Linked DNA regions of Homo sapiens: all the other regions are linked to region 1. The links are contacts of gene promoters, found by promoter capture Hi-C in blood cells and fetal thymus (Javierre and others, 2016). All regions are on one chromosome and are shown on one strand. Each heading gives the region's core, a stretch centred on a gene start or on the middle of the fragment in contact. The rest is flanking DNA. Distances are from core to core; before and after follow the strand shown. Region 1 holds the start of OR4K5 (olfactory receptor family 4 subfamily K member 5). Region 2 overlaps OR11G2 (olfactory receptor family 11 subfamily G member 2). Region 3 overlaps TTC5 (tetratricopeptide repeat domain 5).

Region 1 (4,449 bases), core at 1,261-3,760:
CTGGGGGGAAAGTGTAGCTGGCATCTAATGGGTAATGCCAGAGATGCTCCTGAACACCCTACAGTAGTCACATGACAGTCTGTTTCAACAAAGTAATTCAACCCCAAATGTCAATAATGCCAAAGTTGGGAAACTCTGGCTCAACTGATGAATGAATGCCTCATAGCAGGTGAAAAGATTAGAATCATGAGCATATATTGAGGGAATTTCCAGTTGTAACATAGTGTCAATGGCATGAGTTTTATATTCAGATCTGAAACAGGATGTTGTAATGTGGCAAGACCTGGCCTTGGAGTCAAATACCAGGGTTCAGATTCTAGTTTAATGGCTCTCCAGCTATGGAACTTCAGGGAAACTGCTTATCATCTCCGTATCTCTGACTTCTTATTGTAAGATAGAATTAGTAAGTGCATTTACCATGCAGTGTTATGGGAAGATTCAATTACTATACATTAAGAGCTCAGAACAGTGCCTAACACTTTGATGCTTAGTAAATGTTAAATATTATTTTTATTATCTGATTTCAAATCCCCACTGAGATGTTCTGACCCTTACTAGATGTCTGACCACAGATTAGTAAACATGTCTAATCTTTGTTTTTCTCTTCTGCAGTTTAGTAACCCCTTTTCCAAAGGTCTGTTGTAAAGATCACCTGATAAAACATGTATACACAGTAGATGCTATCTAGCAGCGTCTGAACAAATGCAAGCTCTCTTTGCCCTTCATTTGTAAATTTTAAAATTATGATTCATCATTCACTATATTTAAATCTGCCTCAATTTTTAGCTTAATACATTACATTCATACAATAAACATTTTCGTTAGGTAGAGTTAATCATTTTATGTAATAAATACATGAACTTGAGCAAGGACACTTTTATTTTAGAAATGGGGGAACAAAATGAGTCACACATGGCATAAAGTGATTACATCATATTTCAGAATCCTCTTAGTTATTGCCTTCTTGTATATTATAGACACTGATTTGTTGTTACTAATGCTTTAAACAATTATAATGAGTCATCTTTTTGTTTGCCGTAGTTCCAGAGTTTACAATAATGTATATCCAAAATGTGGCCCAGTGGAATGCTTCTCTGAACCTTCTTCCAATAGAGTACACAATATGATTGTTTACTGTGGGGCTTCCCGGTGTGGATTGCAACTGCATTCATCTAAATGAGAGACTAGGTCTGTAGCCTAGAGACAAAGGAAAGACTCTGGCTTCTTGTATGAAATAAATTAGCAGAAAAAGATGTTCATGTTCTCACATGGGACTAGAATTAGATCATTACTCTCTCAGGCCTCTTACTATGACTGTTGTCAACAGTTAATTGTCAGAACTAATATGGTTTCCTAAAACAGCACTTCTTTAAAGTTTTTCCAGTTCAACTGAACTAGATTTATACAGTAGGGGTATGTCTTTACAGGGTGAAAAACATACGATGCAAATTTTTAGATATTTTCAAGAGCATGAGAGGTTTATAATCATTTTTACTTCTCTATCCAGAAATTTTTTTTAAACTTCATTTTCCAGCATTAATTATAAAGATGTTTTAAGAAGATCATGGAGAACTCTAGCAGGGAGAATGTAAGTGGGCTGAAATCTAATTCTGATAGGCAAAGAAAATGAAAAATTTAGGTTCCACTCTTGGATAATCAACAGAAAATAGGATTTAGATAATTCAGGTAAGCCATAATATGTGTTTTAAGAAATTATTGGATAACTAATTGACAAACTCAGTTGGAACTATAGGCCAGTATAATATACATTCAATAGTATCTGTTTAGCAGGAATTGCCTAATTGTAAATGACTCCTGCAGGAGCACGAAGGTAAATTTCTATTAATATAGGGTGTTTAATGTATTAAGATCATATGTTGCAATACAATTACTTTGATGGTAGAATGTCATGAGTTATTCTGCTTAAACTCTAAAGTTTTCTGTAAAGTAGGTATTTTTATACCTCCCATCTTTTTTAAGGTGTGGAATTAAAGCTCAGATAAAATAATTGGCCAAAAGTTAATCTGTGTGACTTTACATCATGTAATAATAATCAAGCCATGAATATCTCTTCAAAAGTTAAGAATGTTGTATAATTGATGATGTAAGATGACCACAAGACAAGCAAATGTAAACACTTTTTGTCAACCTATGAGGCTTGTGGAGCTGGACTCTAGGTCACTCCTCTAGTCTTGTTGTCATGAGTCAGCTCCTGGGTAAGCTCATTTCCTACTGTATAAAAGACAAGGACTATCCAAAAACTCAAGGGGTTCTAATTATACTGATTAAATTATTAAGCATTATTTAGACATTTACATAAGTTCTTTCCTATTATCCACCTATCCAGACATACTATTATGGCCTCTTCAAAATTTTTGCATTCAGCAAATGCACATTATATCTGAGATCTCAGAATCCCTCACCTTAAAAGTATTCTTAATTCAAATTCTGATTCCTTTCTATTTATCCTCCTTTAGAGTTGTTTCAGAACAAGTTTGCAGCTTGGAACCATGGATAAGTCCAATTCTTCAGTGGTGTCTGAATTTGTACTGTTGGGACTCTGTAGTTCTCAAAAACTCCAGCTTTTCTATTTTTGTTTCTTCTCTGTGTTGTATACAGTCATTGTGCTGGGAAATCTTCTCATTATCCTCACAGTGACTTCTGATACCAGCCTGCACTCCCCTATGTACTTTCTCTTGGGAAACCTTTCCTTTGTTGACATTTGTCAGGCTTCTTTTGCTACCCCTAAAATGATTGCAGATTTTCTGAGTGCACACGAGACCATATCTTTCAGTGGCTGCATAGCCCAAATTTTCTTTATTCACCTTTTTACTGGAGGGGAGATGGTGCTACTTGTTTCGATGGCCTATGACAGGTATGTAGCCATATGCAAACCCTTATACTATGTGGTCATCATGAGCCGAAGGACATGCACTGTCTTGGTAATGATCTCCTGGGCTGTGAGCTTGGTGCACACATTAAGCCAGTTATCATTTACTGTGAACCTGCCTTTTTGTGGACCTAATGTAGTAGACAGCTTTTTTTGTGATCTTCCTCGAGTCACCAAACTTGCCTGCCTGGACTCTTACATCATTGAAATACTAATTGTGGTCAATAGTGGAATTCTTTCCCTAAGCACTTTCTCTCTCTTGGTCAGCTCCTACATCATTATTCTTGTTACAGTTTGGCTCAAGTCTTCAGCTGCAATGGCAAAGGCATTTTCTACGCTGGCTTCCCATATTGCAGTAGTAATATTATTCTTTGGACCTTGCATCTTCATCTATGTGTGGCCCTTTACCATCTCTCCTTTGGATAAATTTCTTGCCATATTTTACACTGTTTTCACCCCCGTCCTAAACCCCATTATTTATACACTAAGGAATAGGGATATGAAGGCTGCCGTAAGGAAAATTGTGAACCATTACCTGAGGCCAAGGAGAATTTCTGAAATGTCACTAGTAGTGAGAACTTCCTTTCATTAAGACAAAACTCCTTCAAATTCCTCAGGTCAATACACTGTTTAATATTTTAATGTATTTTTGTGGTGTATCTCAATTGTGGGGAAAGTAGTGAAGAAGATAATATAGAGAACATTTAATGAATATTAACAAGTCTTTTTCTAGGTATCAAGTGAAAGTTAAATATAAAAACATGGAAAAATCTCTGTTTAGATTACTGGTTCTAGAAATAAAATATGGGCACTAGATGGATAATATGTATGCATTTACTGCTTTTGTTACGGGGTAAATGTAAATATCAAGAAAAAAATCAATGAGAACCTAATTCTCTGGTGGGCATACATTCAAACATTTGTCAGGTTTTAAGAGTTTTCTTAACAACATGCCTAAAACTTCTATGTGGATGAATAGTATTTAAGAATCTGAAACTGAATTTTGCCAACTTCAGGGAATAGCCAAACTACAATTTAATATAACTGCTTAAGTTCAAGTGGAGATTATTAGGTTATGAGACTCCCCCCCCCAAAAATCAATTATGCCTATCCCATACGGTTTTCAAATAGCTAAAATGCTTTAAAATATGGAATGATACATACTCAGAAGCTTCCATTTTAAACCTTTCATTTAAAGGGCTGCCTCTGATTGGCTAGATAATTCCAATTTCCTTTTAGATTATGAGTTGCAGAAAAGAGAGGAGAATCTAGAAAGCTGAACTATTTCAACACCAAGATTTTCGTTTGTGCCACTTCTCTTCTTGTTCCTACAGTGCAGCTGCCAGTGGCTTATGTTCAGGCACCCAGTGGTACTCATCCTCCAGCAAGTTTTATTGCCAGCCTTGGCCTTAAATTCTCTGATCCCCATCTTCACTTCACCTTCTGTGGACTAGATCTGGTCCAGTGCAACCCAGAGAACCTCTCTCCATCTAGGGGGCCTCACTCATATTCTCTCCAAAGAGTTCTGAAACTCAACCTTGGGCAGGGCATCACCCTTC
Region 2 (4,601 bases), core at 2,091-4,590, 280 kb after region 1:
AACTTTCAAATTCTCTACCTTCTCAGTTCAGTAAAACTACTGCTTTCTGCTCAGTCCTTATTCCTCCTTTCCTCATACTCTCCCAACCCAGTAAATGGTCAAATATCCTCAGGGAAATACACATGGGGAATGTGAAACTCACCTCCCTTTTCTTCCCTTCATCTTGGACTGTAGCCCATGAAGGCTTGCCTATGTCAGTTGCTCTGAGTGCCTTCAAATGGTTGTTTTATGTATTTTGTCCAGATTTTACTGTTGATAGAAATTATTTTGGGTTTAGTACAAGTTTTTCAGTCATGACCAGAAAGTTTTTTCTATTCTATCTAGATTCCATACATTCTCACTTCTTCCTTCACTTTCAGGAGATTATCATGTAGCATGTGTCTTCAAAAGCCCACAAATCAGAGAGACAGGTGGATATAGAGGCTGGCATAAACACAAATCTGGGATGCACACCTGCTTTTCTTTTCATTGCAACCAGCAAAGAATCCCTGAGGACTCTTCCCCTGCAGGAAGCAGGGGAAAGGTTACCTATGGTAAAATAAATGATAAAATCAGGACCACAGATTTTGGCCTTTTTTTAATGGAAGGCACCCAGTAATTGTAGATCAGTAAAAATAGTCACCCAGAATTTGTATTAGAAGCTTGGGCTAGTTCTCCTTGAACTTTCCCCTAGGCCTGGAGTGAAAGGTCATGCTATGATTGAAGTGTCTTCACTAATCCAAATACCTGTTTTTCAGGTTAAATAAATAGGAATTGGGAATCAGGGAGCAATTTGCTGAGGATAATGACTTAATTCCAAAAAAAAAAAAAAAAAAAGTTCCTATCCACCACCCTTTTAACTAGCCCAAGTTCCCTTTGCTTTGAAAAGTAACCCTGAATTTCTCTTTAGGACTTCTCACTTATTTGCCAGTCATATCACAATAAGTTTGTTTCCTTAATATAAACGAAGCTCTGTAAAATAGTAAGAGAACAGAACAGTATCCCAGTAAGAAAATGAGCAAAAGGATATAAACGAATAACATCCAGAAAAAGATTCTTAAACATGGAAAGGGCACTAACTAATTCATAAAAAGGTAAAAGTAGAATAAGCCTATAAATATATCTCACTTTTTATCTATTAAATTGACAAAGATCAAGAAGTTTGATTACACATTGCGTGTCTGAGGATTGTGAAATGGGTTCTCTCACACTTAGCTGGTGGGCGTATCAGCTTTACAAACTCTATATAGGGTGACAAGGCAACCTCTATCAAAATTTAGAAGACACATATCCTTTAAAACAGCACCTCAACTTTTAAGTTGTTTAACCTACAGATATTTTTACACATGTGGGAAATGTTTACTGCAGCATTGTTGTAATAGCAAAATATTGAGAAAAACATCAGTTCCCATTAATAGAAGACTAGTAAAATGAGCTATGGTGAGTTATACCATGGAATATTATGTCTTCAATTTATAAACTATGAAGCAGTTCCATATGCAATGATATATAATATGTCCAAGACACACTGTTAAATGAAAAAAGCAAAGTGAATAGCAGAGTGTATTGTAGCTGCCTTCCATGGAAATGTGTATATCTCCTGAAAGAGCTCCAAAAAACTGATAACAATGGTTGCTTCAGGCAAGAAGAATTTTGTGTCTAAGGAACAAGATAGTAAAGGAGACTTTTTTTTCATAACTCCTTTTGTGCGTTCAAATTCTTTATCATGTGCCTATATTATGCATTGAAAAAATAATAAAACATATTTTGTAAAATTTTTTTATTTCCATAGGTTATTGGGGAACAGGTGATGTTTGGTTATATGAGTAAGTTCTTTAAACAAAGAACAATTTTCAATTTTTTTTTTTTTTTTTTTTTTTTGAGATGGAGTTTAGCTCCTGTTGCCCAGGCTGGAGTGCAATGGCGCCATCTCGGCTCACTGCAACCTCCACCTCCCACGTTCAAATGATTCTCCTGTCTCAGCCTCCTGAGTAGCTGGGATTACAGGTGCCCGCCACTACGCCTGGCTAATTTTTGGTATTTTTAGTAGAGATGGAGATTCACCATGTTGGCCAGGCTGGTCTCGAACTTCTGACCTCAGGTGATCCACCCACCTCGGCCTCCCAAAGTGCTGGGATTACAGGCGTGAGCCACTGCACCCGGCCAACAAAGAACAATTTTCTAGGAGAACTTTCTGATCATTAGATTTGGAAAATCATTTTTTCCCGCAATTCTAGGGTTCCTTAGGAGCCTGTTTATTGATAGAAATGTTGAAGCGAGGTCTTCAGAGCCCCTTAACATAATTTCACTCAGATAGTTTCGTACTTTAGAAAAAACCTGAGATACAGCTTCCTCATCTTAGGGCTTGTGTAAATATACTGTTATAAAACTTTAACGAGTTTTATCACAGTTATATTTAGACATCATCTCCCTTATTTTTCAATTACTGATTTTTATTGCCCTTGTTCGGCACCTGCAATGTACCAAACATTGAGCCAGGAAATAAATTTGAGACAAAGGTATATAAGACACATTTTCTTCCCTCATAGGATTCACAGTCTTGTGATCGAGAAAATTGGAAGGTTTTCTTTTTGTTAAGTAGCAAAAGTTCAGTGAGAGGGGAAGGCCTAATTACAGTGGAAGCTCACGAGAAGCTGCATGTATGTAAGTATGGAACTTGTGTGAAAGAGGTTGTAAGCACAGCACAGGCATTGTCTTTTTGCAAGTGCACCTCAGGTTACAGAATAGAAGTGCTTCTAGAAATTATTTTACACCATCGTATAATCAACCACTGCTAGTGGTTACTACTAAGGTCCCAGAGACAAAGCAAGTATGACCATAAAATATAATATAGGCTGGGCGTGGTGGCTATGCCTATAATCCGAGCACTTTGGGAGGCCGAGGTGGGTGGATCACCTGAGATCAGGAGTTCGAGACTAGCCTGGCCAACATGGTGAAACCCTGTCTCTACTAAAAATACAAAAAAAAAAATAGCCGGGTGTGGTGACGTATGCCTGTAATCCCAGCTACTTGGGAAGCTGAGGCGGGAGAATCCCTTGAACCCGGGAGGTGGAGCTTCCAGTGATCTGAGATCATGCCATTGTGCTCCAGCCTGGGCAACAAGAGTGAAACTTCATCTCAAAAAATAACAATAATAATAGTAATAATATAAATTGAATACAAAAGAGAGATATTATTTAAAATGTTAAGTAAATATAGATTTTAGTAATAGAATGTTGAATTGCTTCGATCTACCATCTTGCTGTGATCAAATAAAAATACTAAATTTAAAAAAAAACTTAAAAACATTGACAATCTGAAGAGAGAATAGAAAATGGCTAAGTCATTTTTTTATGAAAGCCTGAGAGGTGAGCACTAAGGCCATTCATGCTCAGAGAGCACTTGACTGTAGTTCATATCCTTATGCTTCAGGACAATTCCTGGCTGAGGAGATAGAAATAGGAACCTGGTGCTGGTGGGGAGGGGGTGGTCACAAAAAGCTGGTGCTCTAATGGTCTTCATCCTCAGGTAAGGATGAACCAGAGCTAGACCTGATGCCACTCAGAAGGGAATCACTCATCCCTGGAAGTTTGTGGCCATGGTTTAGCTCTCGTTTGAATTTTCTTCAATTTCCCCATTACACTAGCAATCTCTTCATCTTTTTTTTTTTTTTTTTTTTTTAGTTCAAAGGTGTTAGGCTTTCTTTTTGTTGTTGTTGTTTGCAGTTTGGGGGTTTTTTTAGATAGTATCTCACCCTGTCACCCATGCTGGAATACAGTGGTATGATCACAGCTAATTGCAGCCTCAACCTCTTGGGCTCAAGCAATCCTCCCACCTTAGCCTCTCAAGTAGCTGGGACCACAGGCACATGCCACCATGCCTGGCTAATTTTTTTTTTTTTTTTTTTAGAAATTGGGTCTCTCTATGTTGCCCAGGCTGTAGGCTTTCTATTAAAGACTTTGCCATCCTCTTTTTCCTTTGTTTCATTTTATGAATGGACACAACTCAAAATTTTTAAGTAAAATATTTTAATCCTCCAGCCTACATGAAATGTTAAGTCACAAAACAGCCTTAATCATTTTGAAAGATTAAAATCGTACCTATCTTTCTCAAATCACAATGGAATAAAACCGTAAATCAACAGCAAAAAGAAATATCCACAAATATGTGGATATTCAACAACACAATCTAAACCAAGCGATGAGTCAGAGAAGTCACAAGGGAAATTATAAAGTATCTTGAGACAAATAAAAATGAAAACACAACATACCAAAATTTACAAGATGAAAAGAAAGCAGCACTAAGAGAGAAATTTATAGCTATAAAGGCTTACATTATAAAAGAAGAAAAATCTCAACTCAAAAACCTAACTTTATGCCATAAGAAACTAGAAAAAGAAGAACAAACTAAATTCAAAGCTAGCAAATGGTAGGAAATAATGAAGATTACAGCAGGGATAAATGAAGTGAAAATATAAAACTGTAGAGAAAATGAACAAAACCAAAAGTTTGTTATTCAAAAAGATAAACTAAGTGGACAAGACTTTAGCTAGATTAAGAAAAAAAGAAGACTCAACAAAAATTAGAAATTAAATGAGGACATTACAACTGATTTTCTAGAAA
Region 3 (4,799 bases), core at 980-3,479, 370 kb after region 1:
TTGCTCACCTTTCCTTTGTGCTGAATTCGGTGAAGCCGCAGGTTGGGCTCAGGAATGGCTACAGAGTCTCCAATGAGCACTCCCCAGCTCTGCACTATATTGTACACCATCACTGCATAGCAAGGTCCATCTGAATCTACCAGGCCAAATGTACTACCAAGTAAAGACAGATTAGGAGAGAGGAAAACAAAAAGGTATGTGGGTAGGAAAGAAGAGCAGAAACAGTGGTTTAAAAATACTAGCAAAATACTGGACTTAAAGTCAGTGACAGGTAATTAAAATAAAATATAAAATTTAACTTAATTAAACTTTAAAAATAAAATACTAACAAAATAAACAAATGCTTTTTCTCAGTTACTCAGAAAACCTATGAGAGGTACCATCTTCCACTTTATATATCTGAGTCTTCATTTTTCTGAAACTCATCAGTCACTTTGCTAAGAACTTAGGACAAAGCACACTGAAGCCATTCAACAAATATTAATGATGAACTAGACCAACATGTTACAGTTGTAACATTATTCCTGGTCTATCAATTTAACTATCATACTCTTAACCAAAGCCTCTAACCATCACTGTCTGTGTAGTTTAACTCCACAAACTTTCACTGAATATTACATATGTGCCAAGCATTGTGTTTAGCAATAAGATACCAATCCAGCTATGAATGACCTATAGTCTAGCAGGAGTCAGACAATGAAGTCATCACTTACAGCACAGTGTGATGGGTGCTAGAATAGCTTTTCCCTTGTGCTGAATTCAATGAAGCCACAGATTGGGCTGTGGGAGCCCAGAGGACAAATATCTAAATCAAAATTGGAAAGCAGGGAAGATTTCCTGGAAGAGGTGACGCTCAAAGTGAATCTTAAAGGGTAAAAAACCAGCTGGGTTAAAAGAGAAAAATTAATCCTCGGTAAAAATGTTAAAAACCTCTGAGGGGATAGGAACAGAGATTTTGACTTGGAGGCAACATCAGGGAACTTCCCAGAATGGTGGTAATGATCTCTATTTGGGTTATACAGATATTTTCCATTTGTTAAAAGCTATGAAATGTACGCTTAAAATTGTACATTTCATTGTATGTAAATTTTACATAAAAAGAAAAAATTGAAACAAATACTGAACTCAGTTAATGACTGCATGCTAAAGTATGTAAAGTATATTGATCTCTGCAATTTACTCTGATAGCAGGATAAACAGACTGATATGTAATAAGCTAAGTAAAATAAAATATTAATGGTAGAATATAAGTGGATGAGAACACAAATGTTCAATGTAAAACTCTTTCAACTTAGCTATATGTTTGAAAATTTTTATACAAAATGTTGGGGGCAGAAGAGGATGTTAGCTATGTCAAGAAGAAGCTAGAGATTATCCAGGCAGAGTAACTGTATGTAAGACACAGAGGCATGAAAACAGCTGTTCTAAAACCAACAAAATTGTTCCATGGTTGAAACAAAAGGCACTGGTGGGAAAGAGACAAAAGATAATAGAAAGAGAAGCAGGGAGCAAATCATGAAGGACTTTGTATGCTAACCTAAGTAGTTCACACTTTATCCCAAAAGCTACATATAGTACCAGTAAGGGATCTTAAATAAGAAGTAGCAATGGTCAGATTTCCATCTAAGAAACATTTCTCTGGCAGCACTGTGGAACACTGGAGGAAACCAGAGAATCAGGGAGACCTATCTGGAGAAGTGATAAGGGGGTGAATTAAGGTGGTAAACACAGAGAAGTCAAGTCTATAGGACAAAAAAGGCAAATCTTTTTGGAGAATGGAGAAGCCTATTCTTCCAAAAGTCTTAATCAAGTGACTGAGAGGTGATACCATTCATTCACAAGGAATCCAGGGAGGAGAAGCAGGTTTACAGAGAAAGATTTAGGTGAGTAATACTGAAATACTGAGTTAGAGATTTCTTATTGGAACCCAGAAGCAGATGGTTATAGGAATCCAACACTTGGAAATGAAGCTTGGGCTGGAGATATATCTGTAAGCATATAGGAGGCTGCCAAAGCCTTGGGTTTATATGACATCACAGGGCAAGATGATCTATAGACAGGATGGAGAAGAATCACACTCATGCCATCACGTGACATGCCTGAATTCACAGGAAATATTGCAATCAAGCAAAGCACTCTCCTGATGAATCCAGTCAAAGCCTCAGAATCCTTCTACACAGTATGTCAGGCAACCACTGACAAGTGATCAAAGTTGGCAACTATAGGCCATCCTGATATAAAGAGAAAAAAGGAAAAAAACAAAAATAGAGTCCTGGGAACCTAAGATTTAAAAGTTAGGCAGAAAAAGAGAAACCAAGGAGTGGCAAAATATCTATTTGTTCTCAAGGTCCTCCAAAACCTACCTTTGTCTATATCCCTTTCTAATTCTTCTCAGCTCTAGGATTTGCTCTAGTAAACTAAACTGTTCTCAACTATCTTTTTGCCCTTCAACTCGTCAAATATACAAACCCCTAGAAAATGCCATGGAGAAAGCTTGGGCATATAATGGGAATTGTGAATATTTCTGTTTAGATGAACAGAAAGGATGTGAAAAGCAATAGTGAGAGATAAGTCAGAATGTTTTGGAACCATGCAATAGAAGTTGCTGGATCCAGTGCCTAGAAAGACAATGGTGATCCTAGGAAAATAACAATTTCAGTAGAAAAGAGAAAGGGGAAACCGGTCAACCAGGGATTAGGAAGTGAGTGAAGGACCAAGGAGTGGTGGCATTCACTAAACCGTAACTTTTCAAGATCCAAAAATTTTCTAAACAAATATTCTTAATTCATTTCCTCTGCTGCTAGAAGCACCTGCACCTGGGTCCTTTACATTTCTTTTTTCTCACTCCCTATGACACATATATTACACACTCAATAAATATTTGTTGAATGACATCTAAGACAATCTCCCAACCAGACTTTAAATTATAACTCAAAGCTCACTTTTCAGAACTAAGTATACCTAAGTACAAACAGGACTAAGAAATTTGTCCTCCTTCAACTTCTATGATCATGAAAATGCAAAGGGACAGAAGAATTTTGAGGTTTCTGTCTTATAAAAAAATATGTCCTGCCAAATTTCAACTATGGATATAGGAATCCACATAGCACCAAACTCAGGGATACAAAATGGGCAGTGACAGAATCTACAAAAGCCTCTGATCAAAAGATGGTTAAACATCACCCAGACAATATCTGCCCACGGGATAGTCACAGAAGGAAATCAGAAGTCACAAATCTGTGACCACTGACAATCTCCTCAACTGCCAGGGAAAGAACAGGAAGTGAGAGCAATTAGTTCAAAAGGGTAAAATGGGGGAAATCCAAGAGAAACTCACAAGGGGACTTTCTCCTCTGTGGTGAGGCTAAATACCACCTTTCCCAGGATGACGGCACCGCTGTTCACCCCAGGCTGAAGCGTACTCAGTGGCTTGAGCTCCAGGGTCACTTTCTGCCCAGAGGCTGACTGATAGTGCCCATCACTGCAAGGGCCTAGATGGGCTGGGCGCAAGCTTCCCAGCATGCTCTGCAGCTTTTTGGTCTTCACCTTTCCCTGCAAAGAAGGGGAAATAGGTAAGAAGCTGGAAACTAGTCGCCTTCCTTGAGATTCTAATCCTTCCCTCCCACCCACTTCTATAGGGTCTCTACCTCGTAAACCTATTTATTCTTATTTTATTGACCCACGACAAAATAAAAAAAAAAAAAGTGGAATTCAGCCCTTCAGACATTTTTACCTTACTCTCAAGGAGGCTGGTTAATCTATCCAGGAATTCCAGAAGTTGTTGCTCTCGTTGCCGGGGCTCTGGCCAGGCAGGGTCCAGGGCTGCAGCCCGAGAGAAGCCCTCCAGGGCCTCCCCATAACTCTCTTCATATTTATGCAACTGTACAAGAAGTGTATCCCAATTATAAGTATATCCAGACAAACTATCCCGAGGGAATGGCACCATGGGCTAGGAATCTAGAGAAATAAACTGTTTTCCTTCCTGGTTATTTTCCTGTGCTGCAACAAACAGCCTGAAGAGCTGGTAACACCTTACATCCTTCTTCCTAGCCAAGATGATCACAACCCCAAAGATGGAATCATTTCAAAGAAGCTAATTTCCAAACTCTAAAATAGTTAAGTTGTATATATTGGCTCACTTGACCTTTATATTTACTTAACATTTCAGAAGTCTTCTAAAAGATCCCCCCATTCTCTACCTATTCTTCCACCTCCACAGCCCCTTCTCCTTTCCCTCCAGTGACTACACCAGATACTGAAGCCAAACCGAGCTAGCTATTTATAGAAATAGCATGGCTTTCCTCTCGCAGTCTGTACCCAATCTTGTCCCTATGCAAACTCAGTTATCCTCACAAGCTAAGACATAGGTGTCTTATTTATTTGACCCTCAGATGACTACACCCCAAAGGTCTTACCGTCGCCCTGTTCAGATGAAGGTCAGGATTGCTAGAAGCTTTTCTGTCAACTTTCTCCTATAATGGGATGAAAAGATTATCAGTGGATCCTGTCTCAATGTTAAGGACTGACATGCCCAACATGTCCTACGCCTCCTCTTTCTAGAGAAATGGAAGTTTCTTCCTTGCCAAAATGGTATTTATACCACAGAAGCAGTTACCGTATAACAGTGTGGATATCTTAGTCCCAAAACCTTAGGGATATAAGTGTTTTTGTATGTGTGAGACTTCAAAATATTATTATAATTTATCCATGTAGTAGTATTAAGATAGAATAAATCTTTATATAAATGAAATATGTGGGCCGGGCACAGTGGCTCACACCTGTAATCCCAGCACTTTGGA

Evidence for each region. Contacts are between HindIII fragments. The CHiCAGO score rates a contact against its expected background, and 5 or more counts as called.
Region 2: a contact is called between a fragment that was not itself captured here and the fragment with the promoter of OR4K5 in region 1, in 1 of 17 cell types (neutrophils). The highest score is 5.2, in neutrophils.
Region 3: a contact is called between a fragment that was not itself captured here and the fragment with the promoter of OR4K5 in region 1, in 1 of 17 cell types (M1 macrophages). The highest score is 5.8, in M1 macrophages.

Annotation. Positions count from the first base shown.
Region 1 is chr14:19,918,097-19,922,545 of GRCh38, forward strand. It overlaps OR4K5 (olfactory receptor family 4 subfamily K member 5), which reads left to right and starts at 2,511. Exons shown (of 1, transcript NM_001005483.1): 1 at 2,511-3,482. The coding sequence starts at 2,511. The coding sequence ends at 3,482. All of the region lies in intron 2 of LOC124903278 (a long non-coding RNA gene), which reads right to left. It also overlaps a transcript of OR4K1 not described here. The HindIII fragment of the contact is 8,373 bases long and covers 1-4,059 here.
Region 2 is chr14:20,199,360-20,203,960 of GRCh38, forward strand. It overlaps OR11G2 (olfactory receptor family 11 subfamily G member 2), which reads left to right. Exons shown (of 2, transcript NM_001386033.1): 2 at 1-1,716. Among named protein-coding and RNA genes, the nearest start is that of OR11G2, 11 kb to the left of the region's middle. The HindIII fragment of the contact is 5,403 bases long and covers 640-4,601 here.
Region 3 is chr14:20,291,975-20,296,773 of GRCh38, forward strand. TTC5 (tetratricopeptide repeat domain 5) reads right to left here. Exons shown (of 10, transcript NM_138376.3): 6 at 4,416-4,472; 7 at 3,734-3,880; 8 at 3,338-3,552; 9 at 9-153. Among named protein-coding and RNA genes, the nearest start is that of TTC5, 12 kb to the right of the region's middle. RefSeq lists an enhancer at 3,082-4,281. The HindIII fragment of the contact is 523 bases long and covers 1,969-2,491 here.